2 separate regions of the Homo sapiens genome follow, and region 1 is linked to region 2. Evidence: promoter capture Hi-C in 16 types of primary human blood cells and fetal thymus (Javierre and others, 2016). All regions are on one chromosome and are shown on one strand. The core of a region is centred on a gene start or on the middle of the fragment in contact, and the rest is flanking DNA. Distances in the headings are between cores, read along the strand shown.

Region 1 (2,700 bases), core at 75-2,574, 110 kb before region 2:
AGTGGCATTTCCAATGATTAAACTTATCCTTGAGGTTAAATTTAATAGTTTATGGAGAAAATAAAACCAGTAAGATTTTCCTAGAAGTGAAAGTAAAAAACTTGAATGAAACATTTCTTGCCTCCAATCAAAAATATCAAATTTTGTCAATTTATTGAAGTTCAATATAGGAACACAAGCTTTACTGAAGCTGTTAATTATGTAACACACAGCAAATTACATAAAATTGCATATGAAATACTTATGTTTATTAACACCACAGTCAAACGTGAATATTAATATAGAGCCTTCTCTGCCAAAAGAGTATAAAAATCCTAAGTTTAATTAAATTTAGGGGCCTTCACCAAACTTGCTGCAAGTTTGGGGACATAAATATCCAACAGCCATAAAGCTGTGAAAGCCCCTATAAGGAATAAAATAAATCCCACTTGCCTCAGACTGAACAGGGCAACACTGAGACTCAGCCTCAGCCTGTCCTATGGCAGGGCTATAGGAAGAAGAAAATTTTAATTTTAGAAAAACAGTTCCCAATTAATTTAAAAGACATGCATTAAAATTTTTTTTTTTAAAAATCCCAATGATCAAGCAAGCAAAAGGAGCAGCTTTGTTTTTAACTATTGTCCACTACAATTCCACTCTGAGCCCGTACTTCTTTTTGTTGGGGAATCCCCCTCCCCAATTAATTAAGTTTAATTAAGGTGAGTCTAAGTTCAAAATGTAACTTAGTGGAATAGGAGTACAGTAGGAATATTTTATTCATACCTAATGGCAAATGTGTGAGACACTACTAAAATACTAAGTATTCAAATCAAGTAATTCCAGCAGCCACTCAAAAATTAATCCTTACCTGCTGTGGTCTTGTTAAACAGTATGAAAACTTATACAACAGAAACTAGTGCCAGACAAAATGTTTTCTTGTTTTTCTAAAAGGGGTGGATGTAAGGTAGAGCCAAAGTTGCCAGCCCTACTAACCTTACAGCTTCCTTAATTATGACAATCACAATGCCTGCCTGAATTATCAAGTCCCAAAAGTTGTCTTCTGTGAGGGCAGTTGGCATCCACTTTGACTCAACTTCATCTACTACTTAAGGAAGGTTGAGTCAGAGTTAATTATATGAATATAATTTGCTCCACTCATAATTCAACCACACTATGGACCCCAGAAGCATTTAGAAAAAAGGTATTTTCTAGAAGCTTAATTACGTTTGGATGCATGCAAAAATTACACTTCAAATATATTAAATGGGTACACCACCTCTGAGCCTATAGCTACAAACTCAGGAACTCATGAGCTTAAGTTTTATCTGCCAATGCCTAACACTTTCAATTAATTTTTAATTAGAATTCTATCCCATATTTAAAAGTTCCATTTTTGCCCATCAGACCTATACAGAGAGCAAAAAACCTTGCTACAAAGTATCAACCTTCTTTGCATAAAATGCAAATAAAGCTTCACATAATTTCTGAAACAGGTCTACTAACCCTATTGCAGTTTGTCAATAACCGTATACATGAAATTCCTGAGAATTTGGGAGAGCACCCCTTACTTAATTATTCTAAATTTAATCACAGCATTTTTTTTTTTTGAGACGGAGTCTCAATCTGTCGTCCAGGCTAGAGTGCAGTGGTGTGATCTCCGCTCACTGCAAGCTATGCCTCCCGGGTTCACGCCATTCTCCTGCCTCGGTCTCCAGAGTAGTTGGGACTACAGGCATCCGCAACTACGCCCAGCTAATTTTTTGTATTTTTAGTAGAAACGGGGTTTCACCGTGTTAGCCAGGATGGTCTCCATCTCCTGACCTCATGATCCACCCGCCTGGGCCTCCCAAAGTGCTGGGATTACAGGCGTGAGCCACTGCGCCCGGCCTATCACACCATTTTTATCTTAAAGACTTTCAACACAAGTTTTCCTTCAGCAGTATATTAAGTGTGCTGCCAAATCAAAGCAGCATGTATTAATTTTGAAACCATTTAGGTAAGCAGAGGTTCAGAGGGGAAAGTGGTTTGGGACTTGGCTGCTGGCAGAAAGAAATACATTACTGGCAAAATACCTGTTTTATTTTCAAACTATGAAAATTTTTGTACCACTATGGTACCACAAGCACAGGAGCCAAAATCATTGAAGCCAGATAATCAGATATTTTAATTTATTTTTTGACAGAGTCTCGCTCTGTTGCCCAGGCTGGAGTGAACATAGCTCACCGCAGCCTCGGAAGGAGGAAGAACCTCCTTCCTCAGCCTCTTGAGCAGCTGGGACCACAGACACACACTAACGCGCCTGGCTAATTTTTAAATGTTTTGTACAGATGGGGTTTTGCCATGTTGGCCAGGCTGGTCTCAAACTCCTGGACTCAAGCAATCCTCCCATCTCAGCCTTCCAGAGGGCTGGGATTACAGGCGTGAGCCACTGCACCCAGCCAATGTGAGTTAAAATAGCATTCAGCTTTATAATACTTGCAATGTTTTGCTTAAAGGTATGACTTTCATCTGTCACATAAATACGAACTCTTTTGTGATGGCTAAATCACTTTTCAATATATTTTCCTTCAAAGTTAAAGCCCTTTTTTCCATACAACTTCAGACTTCATGTGTTTTATCTATACCTTCACAGGAAAGTTATAAAGAAATGTTACCATTTTCTTAGAAGTCTTAACTTTATAATGAGAAAAACTCAACTTGAGTTCATTATATTAATACTTT
Region 2 (2,700 bases), core at 138-2,637:
CGCCAAAGAGAGAAGATCGTAAACTACCCCCCAACCCCATTCAGACTTTCCCGCTTTCGTTGTGTGGGTTGGGGGCCTGGTTTCACTTCCATCTCCCCACCCTGAGGGAGGAGTGGGCAGGGCAGGGTGTCTGCCCGGTTTTTCACCCCTATGTGTAGGTTAGCCCCGGGAGGTTAACCCAAGAAACTCCAGTTCCCAGGGCTTCGCAGGGCCGGCCCGCAGGACCGGAGGGATGGAGACCCGAGCAGCAGACGGCGGGGAAGCCCTCGGGGCAGCCCCTCCCTCTCCTCGCCCAGGGGACCGTCCCCTGGCACCGCCACGGTCTTGGACTCCCGGGCCTCCTTCTAGGAGCAAAGCCGCTCCCAGCACTCTTTGCCTCCCTGCTCCGGCCGGGGTCAGAGGCGGGGGCCGGCTTGAATTTCAATCAGTGTCGCGGCAAGGCAGGTGCCGGGCGGGAGCTAATCCGGGAGCGGAGGAAGGGGTCGCCAGGCCGGCTTGCATGGCCAGGGACGGGGACTCTGCGGCGTCCGCTCCTTCCCCAGCTCCGGGAGCTCGCAGGTCGCGGGCGTGAGGGGAGGGGGAGTCACCGCCGTGACGCGGCCGCCTCTGCGGGAAAACGCCGTGTCCCGGGCACTGCACCAGCGGCGGGGAGGGGGCTCCGGCGGTGACAGGTCCGCGGCGCAGTGGCGGTGCTGTGTCCCGCAGGGAAGCCGCGGGAACCAGAGCGGGGGAAGCGGTGCGCGCGCGTTTCGGGGAGACCGGTCCCTCCGCCCCCTCCTGCCCGCGGGGACCCGGCCAATCCGGGGCGCTCCCGCGTCACCCTGAAACCTCCAAGTTGCCCGGCGTGGGGCGAGACAGGGGCGGCTTTTCCCCCCGGCGCCCCCTAGAAAGTTTGCCGGGCGGGGAGGGGGCACTCACGTCCTCCGGCGCCGCGGGCAGCCGCTCCTCGGCCTCGGGTTCCAGCTCCTCGATGCGCTCCGCCTCGGCGCAGGCGGCCACCGCGGGGCCCGGGCTGGGGTGCTCGCCCATGGCCGAGACGGGGTCCGGGGGCGGCGGCGGCTGCGGGGCTCGTCCCGGGGCGCCGGGCTAACTTTGCGCCGCGGCGGCCGCGCCGCTCCAGGGGCTCAGTGCGCGCCGCGCCGCCTCCGCGCCCGCTCCGCAGCCCGCGCCCGCCCCCATGGCCCCGGTCCCCGCGCCGCCGCCGCCTCCTCGCGACCCCGGGACGCCCGGCCCCTCCGCCGCCAAACTTCACTGCGCTAGCTGCCCCGCCGGCCTCCGCCTCCGCCCCGGCCCTCGCGCCCGGCTCCGAGGCGAGGGCGCCCTTGGGCCGGCCCCGGCCCCGCCGCTCCCCGCGCTCCCTTCCCGCTTCTCGCGGCCCCCGCTCTGCGCCCGAGTCTCCTCCTCCCCGCGGAGTCCTCGGGGGCGGCGCGCGGGCGGGGGCGGGGCTGCTCGCGGGGAACGCCGGCCCCCGCCCCGCACCCCACCCCGGGCGCCGCCACCCGGGCCCAGTCGGTCAGAGCGGCGCGGCCCGGGAGCGGGAGGGCTGCGGCGGGGCTGGCGAGGAAGTGGTGGCGCTGCCCGGGGCGGGGATGGGGACTGCGCCGTCCCCGGCCCGGTCACCACCGGCCTGCACTCCGGGCCCGGGCTTGGCTCTTCCATCGGCTTAACCATCACTTGGAGGTGGCAGATATGTGATGGAGACACTATGTTGGCGACGTCAGGGTTAACTAGGAGTGAATTGGGGGCGCGATGTTGTAAGGACGGGATTCCTGCCTCCCGCCCCATTATCCTTACGCCCTATTCACTGCGGTCTCAGATTCTGGGAGGTCTCGGGAGGCCCAGAAATGGGAGAAGTCAGATTGCGGGGTCGTGGGCCCCAAAGCCTAAATCTTGCCCTTCCTACACCCAGAGCTAAGTGACCATGCCCAGGCTTCATTTGACCACATGGACAAAGGTAAGCCCAGGGAAATGCCCCATCTGGGGAGAGGGACGGTAAAGAAACTAAAGCAATCAGAAAGGAAGTTAGCCAAAACGGAGTAGGGGATCTTTTAAAGAAAACAATCGATGCTGTTTCCCTGCAGGAAAGCGCCCCCAAGAGAGACCATCTCCCGAAGCAGAGGCTCTGGCTGTAAATGGTGCTAGTGGCCGGCCTGGCAGGGGCCAGCTCTCCCCAGAGGCTCAGGAGCTTCTCCAGGAGGCATCTCGCAGTCAGTCCCCAGCCCACACCAAGGCTGTGCCCTTCCACTCCTCTTGCTTTCCTCTTCCCACCACCCACTCACTCACTAGTCTTTGCCCTCTTCCTTCCTCTGGGAAACGGAACAGGCTCCTTTCCATTAGTGAGAGCTGCAACTAATGCAGTCATCTTCAGAAAGCAAAGACATAACCCCGTGCCCAGGATCCGAACTGCGACCATCACCCAGCAATGACTGCTCCCCTTAAACACCGAGAAGGGAATTCACTTGATTCTAATTAGGTGAGTTTGCTACAGACACCAATTTTCATCTCTGTTTCAGAAAGTGTGATCATTTCAACTATTTTTGTTTCTCACCACCCTCCTCCCCATCCCTACTCTACTAACAAGTCAAGATCCTGCCAAGATTTCCTTGTAAATAAAACTGTCTGCATGGGGTGTGATTTTGAAAACAGCCTTCAGGGGACAGAAGAGAGGCTGATTCCTTTGTGAAGAGGAGCCCAGAAGGA

The links. The method cuts DNA at HindIII sites, captures the fragments that hold promoters and counts their contacts. A CHiCAGO score of 5 or more calls a contact.
Region 1: a contact is called between a fragment that was not itself captured here and the fragment with the promoter of RHBDL3 in region 2, in 1 of 17 cell types (M1 macrophages). The highest score is 5.4, in M1 macrophages.

The regions. Positions count from the first base shown.
Region 1 is chr17:32,371,186-32,373,885 of GRCh38, reverse strand. It overlaps ZNF207 (zinc finger protein 207), which reads right to left. Exons shown (of 12, transcript NM_001098507.2): 12 at 1-2,700. Among named protein-coding and RNA genes, the nearest start is that of ZNF207, 22 kb to the right of the region's middle. The HindIII fragment of the contact is 256 bases long and covers 1,197-1,452 here.
Region 2 is chr17:32,264,519-32,267,218 of GRCh38, reverse strand. It overlaps RHBDL3 (rhomboid like 3), which reads right to left and starts at 1,387. Exons shown (of 9, transcript NM_138328.3): 1 at 919-1,387. The coding sequence starts at 1,029. It overlaps LOC105371731 (a long non-coding RNA gene), which reads left to right and starts at 1,768. Exons shown (of 3, transcript XR_934665.2): 1 at 1,768-1,954; 2 at 2,323-2,473. The HindIII fragment of the contact is 5,065 bases long and covers 1-2,700 here.